2 separate regions of the Homo sapiens genome follow, and region 2 is linked to region 1. Evidence: promoter capture Hi-C in human tissues and cell types (Jung and others, 2019). All regions are on one chromosome and are shown on one strand. The core of a region is centred on a gene start or on the middle of the fragment in contact, and the rest is flanking DNA. Distances in the headings are between cores, read along the strand shown. Region 1 holds the start of FBN3 (fibrillin 3). Region 2 overlaps FBN3 (fibrillin 3).

Region 1 (7,175 bases), core at 3,180-5,679:
CAGGGGTTCGAGACCAGCCTGTCCAATATAGTGAAACCCCATCTTTACTAAAAATACAAAAATTAGCCAGGCATGGTGGCCGGCTCTTTTAATCCCAGCTACTCAGGAGGCTGACACAGAAGAATTGTTCAAACCTGGGAGGCGGAGGTTGCAGTGAGCTGAGATGGTGCCACTGCATTCCAGCCTGGGCAACAGAGCAAAACTCCATCTCAAAAAAAAAAAAAAAAAAAAAAAAGGGCCGGGCACGGTAGCTCACGCCTGTAATCCCAGCACTTTGGGAGGCTGAGGCGGGCGGATCACGAGGTCAGGAGATCAAGACCATCCTGGCTAACACAGTGAAACCCCATCTCTACTAAAAATACAAAAAAATTAGTCAGGCAAGGTGGCGGGCACCTGTAGTCCCAGCTACTCGGGAGGCTGAGGCAGGAGAATGGCGTGAACCTGGGAGGCGGAGCTTGCAGTAAGCCGAGATCTTGCCACTGCACTCCAGCCTGAGTGACACAGCGAGACTCTGTCTCAAAAAAAAAAAAAAAAAAAAGAGACTGTGGCAATAAACGTCCCCTGCAATCTCCAGTCCAGGAAGAAGGAACCCTGGGCAGTGGGCAGGTGGCAGCAGAGACTAATACTCTGGGATCACAGTCCCAGGTGTGCAAAGAGGGGAGTCCCATGGGGATACTCACGCTGCCCACACACGGTGCCTGTGTAGCCCTTCTGACACAGACAGGACGCCCCCCGGCAGGTGCCCCCATTCATACAGCTCACACTGCACCCTGACCCTGGGGACAGGAAGGCAGGACGCATAGTAATGTGGAGATGGGCCCCGAGATGCCCTCCTAGGAAGGCTGCAGGACTAGGCATGCTCAGCCCCGCTCCTGTCCTTCAACAAAAGCAGCCCAGGCTCCTCGTGGCAACCAGAACCCTGTGAACTTCTTCTCCCTCCCGCAAGAGGCCGCTTCCCGCTCACCTCGGCTCACCCCGCAGCTGGGAGCCAGCGTCCCATCCGCACAGGTGCACAGGTTGGGCTGGGAGCAGAAGCCTTCACCGCAGGCGCGCCTACAGATGGCTGGATGAGTGCAGCGGGTGGCAGTCAAGACCAGGACCGAGCCTGGGCCGTCCCTGCTCCATTGGTGTCCGGGCTGGCCGGAACACCTCAGTGGACGCTGCTGGTCATCTGCATCCCCGGCTCTGCTCATAGCACACCCCACCCCTGTTTTCATGGGATGTCCCCCCACTCTCGGGCTGGGCTGGGCAGGGTGTGTGACCCAGGCTGTGGGTTGGGGACTCTGCTAGAGCCATGGGGAGAGAATGCTCTTTGGGCCAGAGCTGCTGAGCTGTGAGGACAGAGCTGGAGGTGCTGGGGTCCTGGATACTGAGGTTGGGTGTCTCCTGGGAAGTGGAGTCAGATTCCAGAGACAGAAACAGAAAGAGAGGGTGAGGCCAGAGAGAGACAAACAGAGAGAGACTCAGAGAAACAGAGAGAGAGAGAATCAGTTAGATAGAGAGACAGTAACCAACAGAGAGAGGCCAGGTGCAGTGGCTCACACCTGGAATCCTAGCACTTTGGGAGGCTGAGATGGGAAAATCGCTTGAGGCCAGAGTTTGAGACCAGCCTGAGCAACACAGAGACCCCCATCTCTAAAAATAATAATAATAAAGAAAAGAAACCAACAGAGAGAGACATGAGCAGAGATGAATAGAGAGAGGCAGAGACAAAGCAAGGGAACCAGAGAGACAGACAGACACAAGGAGGTTGTAGGGCAAAGGAAATGAACATGGCAGGTTGGCCTGGAACCCTGAGGACAGACGCAGATGCAAGGGCCATTCCTGTGGTTCAGCCAGAGGTCCCTGGCTAAGTCCCCGTGTAAACAGAGCTGAACCTGCAGGCAGGTAAGAGTGTCCCCGGCCTGTGCCCCCCCACCTCCAGACGGCGGTAGCACTCACGTACGACACACTGGCTCCTGCCAGGGAATGTCCTCCAGCCTGGACAGCAGTAGGCATGGAACCGGGAGCCGCACACATTCGGCCTTCGGGGACAGCGAGATGGGTCTGGTGAGCCCCTGCCCGTGTGGACATCCCCCCGGGTATTCCGCTGGCCCCAGGACAGCCCAATCCACACCGAAGGGGTCTCCCAGCATCCCAGGTACCACGCACCCCTGCAAGATGCCTGGGCTGCCCCGCCTCCGCACACGTCCAGGACCTGCAGCCTCCAAGGCCCCGTCCCAGCGGCCTTGGCCACCTGCCATGCACAACAGGGCCGACCAGGCCAGCAGGAGCCGGGCCAGGGGGCCCCTTGCCAAATACAGACCCTCCAGAGTCATGGCGTGTCCCCTGGAGGCTGCGGAGAGGAAGCAGAGTCAGCCCTAGATGAGCCCCCCACCCTAGCCATGGGGGACCCAACACAACGAGGAGGGCAGGGTGGTTGCCAAATGGGGCAGCCCCGGGGCCTCTGGGAGCCCAAGGAGGCATCCAGCCCCAACCGGGAAGCGGTGAACAGTCAGAGGAGGCTTCCTGGAGGAGGTGTGATGTTAGAGAAGGGTCTTGGGGCTGAGGGTGCACAGCCAAGGCAAGACGGGAGTGGGAAGTGGAAGGGAGGGGAGAGAGGGCCAGGTGGGGCCAGGTGGGGCCAGGCGTTGCAGGAGTGGGCATAGCAGTGTCATGCAGCTTTTGCTCATTCGTCAAGGACAATGAAGAGCCCTTGAAAAGCTTTGAGTGGGAGGAGCAAGGTCAGAAATGCATGTTAGGTGGTGTGGGGAAGGGCAGCAGGGTCCCGGGGGGGAAACAGGGTGTCAGAAGGCTGGGGGCTGTCCAGATGGGAGAGAGAGGAGAGGAATGGGAGGCTCATGTCGTGGGAGGTGGAGGGCATTGAGGAGATTCCCAAAGTTCTAGCTGGGACGGTGGAGCCCAGAGAGCGTCCAGGGTAGGAGGAAGATGGTAAGTCGTGGAAGGCAACAACCCCACTGTCCCTCTGTGACACAGATACCCCCACTCCTGCAATGCCTGGCCCCACCTGGCCCTGTGTCCCCTCGCCTCCACATCCCACGCCGGTCTTGCCTGGGCTGTGCACCCTTAGCCGCAAGACCCTTTTCTAACATCACACCTCCTCCAGGAAGCCTCCTCTGACTGTTCACTGCTCCCAGGTCAGGGCTGGATGCCTCCCTGGGCAGGGGGCCCAGGCAGGGGCTGGAACTTCCCAATGCAGAGAGTAACCCTGTGCCCAGCAGGGAAGGGACCGCTTCTGTGCCCATTTCACAGATGCACAAACTAAGGCCATCACACCATGAGTGAGGGGCTAAGCCGGAGCTTAAGCCCACGAAGAGAAGAAGGAGGGGAAGAAGATCAGGAACGGAACTCGCTCCTGCCCCCCTTGGCTGGGTCTTTCCTGGGCCATGAAGGACGGGAGGGAGAAGACCGGGACAGGAGACGACCGTTTGGAGGGTGGAGGCAAAATACTTGAGGGAGAGAAGCCAGACCAAGTGGCCTTCCTGTTCCATTCAGGTTCCAGGGAGGAAAGGAACCGGCCCTAGGTGGAGAATGGGCGGGGAGCCCTGCTGTGTGGTCTTGGCCACGCCCCTCTCTGGGCCAACCTGGTTGTCCAAAGGCCCCGGAGAAGGGAGAGACCCCTGTCAACGTTGGAGGGTTGGCTGGCTGGAGAGGGGCGCCCTCTTTTTCTTCTCAGTTGTCCGGGTCAGTCCGCACTCTGAGGCTCCGTGGACTCCAAGCAGCCTCGGGGCTTGCAAGCCCTCCTCCCCCACTCCCTCCGCCCCAGCCCCCTGCCTCGGGTCGGGTGGGGGAATTAGGTGGGGGGAGTCTCTGGCCTGATTTGCCTCGGTCCCCCCTACACACCGCTGCTTCTGCGAGCCACACCCTGGAGTTTGTGGAATGAATGAGCAGAGAAGGCGCGCCCGGCACGGGGTGTGGAGGCTGAGGGCCAAACAGCGAGGGATACCAAGCTTCGCCGACGGGGAGGGGGCGCCCCCGGAGCCCGCGGGGCGCGATCTCCACCCGGCAGGGCCCCCGGCCGCGACCACGCTTGGCTCCGCCCTCACCTGTGGGGTCAGGGGCCCCGCGCCCCGGCCGAGCCCCTCCCGCCGGGTCCCCGCGCCCCCACTCCCCACTGCGGCGGGCGCCACTAGAAGGCGGAGAGGGGAGGGGGCTGGGCCCGGGGCTGCCCGGCTGCGAACAAAGGAATCCTCTCCCCCTCCCCCTGCCGGCCCCCCCGCCCCCGCCTTCTCCACCCTTCAGCGCCCGCGATCTCGCCCCGCCGCTGGCCCCGCGCCTTCACCTACCTGCGAGGCGGCGCGCGTGGAGGCGGGCACGGCAGGCGGACGCGCGGGACTCAGCGCTGCAGGGCGGGCTCCTGCGGCGCCGGGGACCCGGGGCGGGAACGCAAAGCCGAGAGGCCGACCCCGCCGCGTTCCCAGCCCAGAGCTGCCACTCGGGGGGGAGTTGGGGGCGGGAGGAGTTGGAGGAGGGCGCGTTTGCACCTCTTAGCTCCCGGGGCGGGGACGGGGGGCTCCGATCCGGGGCGGGGAGAGAGGCTGCGGCTCGGGGGAGGGTCCGGGGCTCCGAGTGAAAAACTCCGATGGACTGGAGGGATGTGAGGGCGGGCTGGGGGCGCCTAGTAGGGGCTGCCGGGGCCGCGTTTTCGGATCGAGACTAAGGTGGAGGTGGGGCTCTGACTTTTGGAGGGCCTGGACGACAGCCTGGGCAGAGAAGTCCCGGGACTCACCTGGGCGGCCCTCTCAGGGCCTCCCAAGCCGCCACCCCCTCCCTCGAGCAAGGAGAATTGCGAGAGTGACGTTGGAAACTCACCTGGCTCTTGGAGCCTGGATTCTTAACTAGGCTGAGATCAGGGGCCCCTAAATATGTTGACAAAACATTGGGCAAAGCTGTATTTCCCAGGGAGAAGGGCCCAGGTTTTTCATCTGGTTCTCAAAATGAAGAGGTTAACAATTCAAACGGTGTAAACTTTCAAATCTCTTTGAACCTGTTTGTCCACCTACCAAAGGGACCAGACAAGAATTTTGGCTCCCTATCTGTTGTCAGTACTCCAAACAAAAATTTCTAGGCTTTTCCACTACCTTCATACCTTTGAGAATAGACCCTTAACATGGGGATCTGTCAGAAGCTGTGCGTTGGGCCTGAAGCTGTTACTCCATCCAGCAAACTCCTACGCATCTGTCAAAGTCCAGTTCAAAAATTCCCTCCCTATCCGCAAATTGTGAGTTTACTCTATTGAACTCCCAAAGCTGATTGTGCTGAATATCCCCCCACCACAGTACTTCCGGAATCTAATAAATAAGTAAGCCCAGTGGGCTTGAAACCAGGAGTTCGAGACTAACCTGGGTAACATAGTGAGACCCCATCTCTAAAAAAAAAAAAAAAAAAAAAATTAAAAAGAATTAGCCAGGCCTGGTGGCATGCATCTATAGTCCCAGCTACTCAGGAGGCTGAGGCAGGAGGACTGCTTCAGCCTAGGAGGTTGAGGCTGCAGTGAGTTATGATTGTGCCACTGCACTCCAGCCTGGGCAACTGAGCAAGACCCTATCTCCAAAAATTGGAGACCCTGTCTCCATTCCGGAAGTGCTATGGTGGGAGTATATTCAGCAAGTCAGCTTTGGGAGTTCAATAGGGTAAACTCACAATTTGCAGGGAGGGAGAGGATTTTGTTTATGTTTTGTTTTGTTTGTTTTTTGAGACAAAGTCTTGCCCTGTCACCCAGGCTGGAGTGCAATGGCACGATCTTGGCTCACTACAACCTCCACCTCCCAGGTTCAAGCAATTCTCCTGCTTCAGCCTTCCGAGTAGCTGGGATTACGGGCTTGTGCCATCATGCCCGGTAAATTTTTTGTATCTTTAGTAGAGACGGGGATTCACCATGTTGGCCAGGCTGGTCTCGAACTCCTAACATCGTGATCCACCTGCCTCGGCCTCCCAAAGTGCTGAGATTACAGGCGTGAGCCACCGAGTCTGGCCCAGAAGGGGATTTTTGAAGTAGGTTTTGACAGTTGCATAGGAGTTTGCTGGAGGAAACAGAACAGGCAAAGGCCTGGAGAAGGAGAGAACTTAGAACAAACATGCCTGGATGGAGTGAGGTTGGAACTTTAGGAGAGAGGAGAAGGGGAGGGAGCAAGAGGAAAGCAGGAAACATAAGAAGAGGCTAGAAGCACCGAGGAGCCCTCAGCAGGCTCCCCCCCCACCTCTGAGGGGAGACACGGTGGACTCACAGAAAGGGGAGGTTCTCCCAAGGCTCCACTTCCAGGTCTTAGACTGTGTCCGGGGAGCATTGAGGGCCCCAGGGCTGGGCTCGGGGAGCATGGGACAGACGCCGACTTCAGGGACAAGATCCAGTCATCCTGGCCAAGGGAGGGGCCCGTGGACCCTGTGAGAAGGGTCAGGTGGGGTGCTGGGGCATGGGGAGGGTGGACTGGGGAGGGAACCCCAGGATGGAGGTGGCCCAGCAGAGACAGGGGGGTGGGGTTCCTGTTGGAGGGTGGGCCCAGGGGCTATTGTGGACAAACCAGTTTCCCCGGCCACCTTGGACACCTCTTTCCAGGCTCCTCTGCCAAGGTCCACCCAGATTTGTTCTGCAACAAATGAATCTTACATGGGCACGGGGACAAGCACCGGGTGCCCTAGAAGCAGCCCAGCATAGGTGCAAAAGGTGGGGAGAGATTGTCCCATCCCAGGGACACTGCACAGCCACTGTTGCCATGGCTAAGTCTGGAGGAGGGCTTTCCTGGAAGAACTGTGGGCCAGGGAGCGACTCAGTCCTAGAAGTCTCCCTACCTGCCCTCCAGAAGAGAGGGGAGAAGGAAGCCGGAGGGTGTGGCAAGACCAGGATGTGGAGCTGTTGGAAGTCACCGCAACTGAAGTGCTCGAAAACGGCAGATAGTGGGCATTGGTTGTTCACAGCCCCCAACCCAAGCTACTGTCCACACCGCGTGCTGTAGTTTCAGACTTCCCATGGTGCCACCCTGGTCTGTTATGTTATTGCCAGTTATTGATGTGGTATCACAGACAGTGTCACCCCCCACTGTACCCTTATTACATCACACTGTTAAGAAGGGACATTTAGGCTGGGCATGGTGGCTCACGCCTGTAATCCCAACGCTTTGGGAGGCCGAGTTGGGCATATCACGAGGTCAGGAGATCAAGACCATCCTGGCTAACAC
Region 2 (7,175 bases), core at 1,383-3,882, 41 kb before region 1:
GACAAAAATAAACTTTTGCAGAACTCTGGAATCAGTCAAAAGCTTACAACATCCAGACAAAGATATGGTGAAGAAGGAAGCTGCTGTACTTCATAAGGGAGTGTCGTGGCATTTTAAAGGGTCTATCTACCATCCCCCACACCACAGATCCACAGCAGCCATGAACATCTTAAAGGCAGCAAGAGAGAACTGACAGATCATGACAAAAGAGGAGGCAGGGGGCAGAAGCCTTTCCATGAGGCCTTCCCTCCTCTACCCTTGTGAGGCTTGGCAGGGCAGGAAGGCAGGGAGAGAGCGGAAGAGCCTGACCCACCCCAAAGAGAATCCATGCTCACCCTCACAGATGCGGGTGTGCTCACTGAGGTGGTAGCCAGGTGGGCACTCACACTGGAAACTGCCAAACGTGTTGACGCAGTCACCCCCCTGACACAGCCCTGGCAGCTCTTGGCACTCGTCGATGTCTGTCAGGAAGTAAGGAAGCCAAGCTTGGGAGCTAAACCCATGCAGAGGACTTAAGGGGCACCCACACCATGCTCTGGGTTCTCCAGGGCCCTCTCGAGGATCCCCAAGTGCTGTCCATGACTGATAGACATTTAAAGGGTCTATCTTGATGGCTGGACACAGATTCTCTTGAGTTAATGTTACCCTAAATTCAACTCCATTCCCTTCATCTGTTAGTCCATTCTCCCATCCACCACATAGTTTCCTCTAGATAGAGAAATAGATAGTTTTCTTCCTCTAGATGGAGAATAGTCTTCTCCAACCTTGTCACTCCCTATAGAAAGGATGGATGGGAGGATGGATGAATGGATGGATGAGTGGATGGATGCATGGATATGAAACAGTGGATGGGTAAATAAGCAAGTGGGTCAATGAATAAGATGATGAGTGAGTGGATGGATAGGAAGGTGGATGGATAGGTGAGTAGACAGGCAAATGAGTGAATGGGTGGATAAGTGGATGGATGGATGGATGGATGAATGGATGAATAGATGGGAGATAGAAGATGGATGGAAGGGTGGATGAATGGGGGAATAGAAAGGGAGTAGGGAACGGGTGGATGGGAAATGGGTGGATGGATGAGTGGATGGATGGATGTATTGAGGATGGATGGGTGAATGGGGGATAGATGGATGGGTGAATAGATGGATAGAAGAATGAGAGATAGGTGGGTGGGAGATGGATGGATGGGAGAGTGGGAAATAGGTTAATGGATGGGTGAATGCGGGCTAGATGAAGGATGGGGGGTGGATGGATGGGTGAATGGATGGATACAAGGATAGCAGAGGGATGAGTGATGAATGGATGAATGGGTGGATGGGGCATGGTTGGATGGAAGGATGGAGGGATGGATGGAAGGATGGATGAATGGAAGGATGGATGAATGGGTAGATAAAGGATAGTTGGATGGAAGGAAGGATAGATGAATGGGTAGATGGGGGATGGTTGGGTGGAAGGATGGATGGATGGAAGGATGGGTGGATGGAAGGATAAATGGACAGAAGGAGGGGGGATGGATGAAAGGATGGAGGATAGATGAAGGATGGGGGATAAATGGGTGAATGGATGGATAGAAGGATAGGAGGGGAATAAGTGGGGGGATGGATGAATGGGTAGATGGAGAATGGTTGGATGGGTGGAAGGATGAATGGATGAAAGGATGAGTGGAAGGATAGATGAATGGATGGATGGTCGAGTGGAAGGATGGATGGATGGATGGATGGATGGATGAATGGATGGAAGGATGAGTGGAAGGATGGATGAATGGATGGATGGTCGGGTGGAAGGATGGATGGATGGATGGATGGATGGAGGGATGAATGGACAGAAAGATGGGGGATAGATGAAGGATGGGGAATGAATGGTTGACTAGATGGATGGATAAAAGGATAAGAGAGGGATGAGTGGAGGATGGATGAATGGGTAGATGGAGGATGGTTGAATGGAAGTATGGAAGTATGGAAGGAAGAATGGATGGAGGATGGCTGGATGGAAGGATGTATGGATGTACTGGATGGATGGAAAAAATGGAAGGATGGATGGATGGATGGATAGATGGATGAATGGCTGGATGGATGGGTAGAAGGATGGATGAATGGATGGAAGGATGGGTGGATGGAAGGATAAATGGACAGAAGGATGGAGGATGAATGGAAGGATGGGGGACAAATGAAAAGATCAATAAACCAACAAGTGGAAGAAATGGCTGAAAGAACAGATAAAAAAAATTAAACACAAACTAAAAGCATAGTGTGGTCCTGCTGCTCAGCCTCCAGGTGGAAAGATCTGCCCCATCCCAGGACAAAACTACTCAACTCTACACTTTGGTGAGGTGGGGATGAGAGAAAAGTCAGTCTCTAGGCAGACAGATGGATGGATGATCTGCCAGGAACTCACCTTCCAGAATGACAGTGATGCGGTTAGGCTGGAAGCCCTCACCACCCGGGCACAGGGTTCTGTACTCAGCTGTAAAGGGAAACAGGCTCCTGTGAGGTGGGGTATTGGGGCAAAGCTTAGGGGAAACAGGGGAGCAACAGCAGGAAGCCTGAAAAGGGCTCAAGAGTGGGCTCCCATCCTTCTACTGTACTAACGACATCCCCATATCTCTTTAGCCTCTTGGGGCCAAGAGACTTTGGCCAGTCCTGGGGCTGCTTGCGTGTGTGTGTGCATGTGCGTGTGCATGCGTGTGTGTGTGTAAATGTGGGTTCCCATTCAACATGTGAGCAGAGTTATGTGGTAGTGGCTGGGGGTAGGAGGGAGAGAAGATTATTCCTTCTGATCCAAAACCATATCCTAGTGTAACTGCAAGTTTTCCCCATGCAAGGAAGACCTTGGACATTCACACACGCATACACCTGAATAGGTGGACAGGTACCTCCCTGTTTCACACCTGAGGCCTTTGCACATACTGTTCTCACTGCATTGCACATCATTCCCCCTACTCTGCTAGGAAAACTCCTACACATCCTTCAAAACCTCACTCAAGCCTCCTCCCCTGGAAAGCCTTCCCCAGAGCTTTCACTTCCCCACAGCTTTCTCCTGAGCTATGGGTATGCCTCAAAGAAAACCCTTAGGACAGTTCTACTCTCACAGTCCTGAAACTGTTGATTTAAGGGTGAGGGAGAAGCAGCGTGCAGAGGCTGTGGCTCATCCTTCTCTGAGTCCCCAGTCCCCAGCACATGACACAGAGGAACTCTCAATATTTGTTGACTGACTGAGTGATCAAGTGACTATAAACACAGAGAATTTACAGAAAGCGACCTTGGAGAGAGGCCCAGCCAATGAACTACCAAGACGTACACTGTGTGACCCAGGATGAGCCCCTCTCCTCCCCCAGTTCTTGGTTTTCCTGTCGCCTAAGCCCCCCACCACCGCCATTAGCAGAGGTGACCCCCTAAGCTCCCGGGCCTCGGTGGCTTAGGTCACGGTGTTCAACTGCCCCGCAGGGACTCACTGGTGTTGGCCATAGGGCACAGCTCACAGGGATTGCCCCAAGCCCGGCCCAGGGAGCAACAGCAGGAAGCTCGGGTGACACCAACTCCGATCTCGGCACTGCAGGAAATGCCACTGTCCCCTCGGTCATGCGTCTCCAGGAAACAGTTCCCGGCCCGAGTGTCTGAACAGGCAGAAGGGGATGGTTAGTAGGTGTCAGAGGGAAAGCTGTATGTGTGCGTGTGCATGCATGTGTCTATTTCAACAGGTGACAAGGACAACCACTCTTGCAGGAGACCAGCAGATGTCCCGTTTGTCAGGAGCAGGTAGATTTGAACACGTTGACATCTGAGTTAACCCAGTGGGGCAATCCCACCCACCTCTGCTGACCCCAGAACCCTGATCTGGAGTTGAGCATGGACTCACCCACGCAGCCCACTCCGCTGGGGTTCAGCTCAAAATCCTGGGGGCAGCTGCAGAGGTAGCTGCCGGGGGTGTTAATGCACACGCCGTTGATGCAGTTTACTGGGTCTGCACACTCGTTGATGTCTGTAGGGAGGAAGCGCGGTCCTCAGCAGGGAGCCCCTTCCTCGGCCCCCCTCCCTCCTAGCTTCATCCTGGGAAGCTACAGCCCTCGCTCAAGGTCAACTCCTGGGCACCAGATTGTGGGACAATGTCATGTCCTTCCCTGGGAAGAAACCTAAGGGGACAGGAGCCTCCAGTCTGTCCTGTCCCCTCCAACCCCATTCCCTCTCCTGCTCTGTTCTGCCTGGCAGAGTTTTGTTCATTGAACTCTACCTGCCCTGGGTTCCATGCAGTCAACATATGAAAATCATATCTATTTTATTTCCGTAATTTATTGATGTTTAGAGACAGGGTCTTGCTGTGTCGACCAGGCTGGAGTGCAGTTGCACAATCACGGCTCACTGCAGCCTCAAACTCCTGGGCTCAAGCGATCCTTCTGCCTCAGCCTTTGGAGTAGCTGGGACTACAGGTGTGCACCACAATGCCCAGCTAATTTTTTATTTTTACTTTTTAGAGATGAGGTCTCGCTATGTTGCTCAGGCTGGTCTCCAACTCCTGGCCTGGAGTGATCCTCCCACCTCAGCCTCCCAAAGTGCTGAGATTATGGGCATGAGCCACCACTCCCAGCCAAAACCCATATATAGAAAATACTTTCAAACCATGGGTTAGCAAATTCCAACCTGTAGGTCAAATCCGGTCCACCACCTGTTTGTGTCAATAAAGTTTTATTGGTACAGGGGCCACATTCATTCATTTACATATTGCTTGTGGCTGCTTTTGAGCTACAATGGCAGAGTTGAATCATTGTGACAGAGACTGACTGTGTGGCCTGCAAAGCCAAAAATATTTACCACCTGCCCATTTCTAAAACACACAGAGGTAGGAGACCCTTTCAGCAGCTAGCGTGGAGGGGCCACTTCAATCACAGAACTTATTTAGCAGGCGAACAGGAACGGGAAATGATGGGGACATCAGGCAAGGCGCCCCCCACCCCCCAGCAAGACTGCAGGGGAGGATGCTTGAAAAGAGATCTGAGGGCAGTGAGGGAGTGAGCCATGTCCCCTGCCCCAACTCCTGCTCTCTCCTCTCCCCTTCCAGCCCAGATGACCTCACACCTGTGCAGTTGCCACCCCCTCGGTCCAGTTCGTAGCCACCATTGCAGATGCAGCGGAACATTCCAGGCAGGTTCTCACAGCTCCCAAATGCACAGAGGTTCCCTTGCGCACACTCGTCCACATCTGCGGGGACCCTGGGTCAGCCTGCCCCACCCAGAGTCTGCAGGGGGGACCTACCCACTCTGTCCTCTGCCCTGGCGGGCCCAACCTTACCCTGGCAGGCCCGGTGGTCCTCGGTGGGGTCAAAGCCCATCTCACATTCACAGCGGTACCCGCCGGGCGCATTGAGGCACTGCCCGTTGTCACAGAGGTCCACGTTCTCGGCACATTCATCCCTGTCTGAGGGGCCCCAAGATTCGGAGGGCTGGAGGCCGGTGGACCAGGACCCACACAGGGTGGGCAGGAGGCCCCAGTCACTGGAACACTTCGCTGTCAGCCAGAGTCCCAGGCAAGTAGCCCTGGGGACTCAGTCCCTGACTTGGGGGTGGGAGGCGAGTGACCGAGGCAGGGACAGGGAGGGGAGAGGTGGTCTGGACTCTTGGACTCCAGAGAGGGGACCCAGTCTCTCTGGATCCAGGGAGGAGGGCAGCCAGGAAGGAAGCGTCTCATGCACTTAAGTGTTCAAGGGAGCCGTGGGCAGGCCGCAGCACCGCCTGGGCCGAGGACACAGCCTCTCCAGCACCCACAGAGCGGCGATTGAGTCAGAAGGAGTCAGGAGGTCGAGTGACCATGGCAGCCACCGTGAATTCAGCCCCCGTGGCTGTCCCTCTAGGGCCCCTGCCCTCCCACCCCTCTAATCTCACCTTCGCAGAAGAAGCCATCCCCGGCAAAGCCCTGGCGGCAGGTGCAGCGGTAGGAGCCAGGGACATTGAGACAGTCACCTCTTGGGCTGCACCGGTGCTCCTGGGAGACGCATTCATCCAGGTCTGCAGGAGATGGAGCCCAGACCCCCCACCCCATGGTGTGTGCATTGGGTGGGCGCAGAAGGGAGAAAGACCCATCAACCCTCCAACCCTGACTGCCCCCCTGCAGACACTCCCGGATCCCACCCTCCCACTGCCTTGCCCCCCACCGCCTTGCCCCCCACCTACCTCTACTGCTTTGCCCCCACTCCCTGCCCCCAGGTACTCACCGTGACATTCGAAGCCATCCCCCACCCAGCCTGGCAGGCACCTACAGCTGAAACTCCCCGGGATGTTGAGACAGGAGGCGTGACTGTCACAGTTGTGTCCTCCAACCTCGCATTCATCCACATCTAAAGGGAGAGGAGGCACGACGCCAAGACCCAGTCACAGAAGGAAAGACTCGATGCAATAGCAGCGGAAAGGGCAGGGACTCTTCCTCTCTAGGGGAGAGCTGGCCCAGAAAGCCTCCTCCCATTCACCTGGGGAGCTTCCATCTTTACCCAGAGCCCAAGAGGAAAACCCCGAAACCCAACAGACATGACTCTCAGCAGCCCTCAGAAATGGCCTGAAATAGCAGCATGAAAGACTTGGGGTAGATATTAAGAGTGACTGTCCAGCCGGGTGCGGTGGCTCACGCCTGTAATCCCAGCACTTTGGGAGGCCGAGGCGGGTGGATCACGAGGTCAGGAGATCGAGACCATCCTGGCTAATGCGGTGAAACCCTGTCTCTACTAAAAATACAAAAAAAAAATTAGCCAGGCGTGGTGGCAGGTGCCTGTAGTCCCAGCTACTCAGGACGCTGAGGCAGGAGAATGGCGTGAACCCGAGAGGCGGAGCTTGCAGTGAGCAGAGGTTGTGCCACTGCACTCTAGCCTGGGCGACAGAGTGAGACTCCGTCTCAAAAAAATAAATAAATAAAAAAATAAAAAAGTGACTGTCCGTATGAACACGCCCCTTTTCCAAGCCAGGATTTCCCTGTCCACCAGCATTTCCAATCCAGAGTCAATTATGCCTCACCCTTATGATCTCTGCCATGTTAAACCTTGGTGAGCTGCTGTTACTAAACATTTCTTTCCCACACTTCTGTTTTCCCTGACATAAATTGTGTTTTAAAAGACAATTTTGGATCAACATCAACAACCTCTAAGAAGTCATAGGCTTGATGCTCTGTTATGTAACACTTGTTTCTAATACACAT

What was found. The method cuts DNA at HindIII sites, captures the fragments that hold promoters and counts their contacts. A contact is called where the count stands out against the background at its distance.
Region 2: a contact is called between a fragment that was not itself captured here and the fragment with the promoter of FBN3 in region 1, in 1 of the 25 tissues and cell types used here (pancreas).

Annotation. Positions count from the first base shown.
Region 1 is chr19:8,145,163-8,152,337 of GRCh38, forward strand. It overlaps FBN3 (fibrillin 3), which reads right to left and starts at 4,430. Exons shown (of 64, transcript NM_032447.5): 1 at 4,287-4,430; 2 at 2,152-2,335; 3 at 1,942-2,024; 4 at 965-1,063; 5 at 681-776. The coding sequence starts at 2,318. RefSeq lists enhancers at 1,645-2,616, 2,617-3,587. The HindIII fragment of the contact is 21,800 bases long and covers 3,327-7,175 here.
Region 2 is chr19:8,105,773-8,112,947 of GRCh38, forward strand. FBN3 (fibrillin 3) reads right to left here. Exons shown (of 64, transcript NM_032447.5): 31 at 6,205-6,327; 32 at 5,876-5,998; 33 at 5,286-5,411; 34 at 5,073-5,195; 35 at 3,859-3,981; 36 at 3,455-3,616; 37 at 2,398-2,466; 38 at 336-461. Among named protein-coding and RNA genes, the nearest start is that of FBN3, 40 kb to the right of the region's middle. RefSeq lists an enhancer at 5,146-5,646. The HindIII fragment of the contact is 6,298 bases long and covers 1-5,781 here.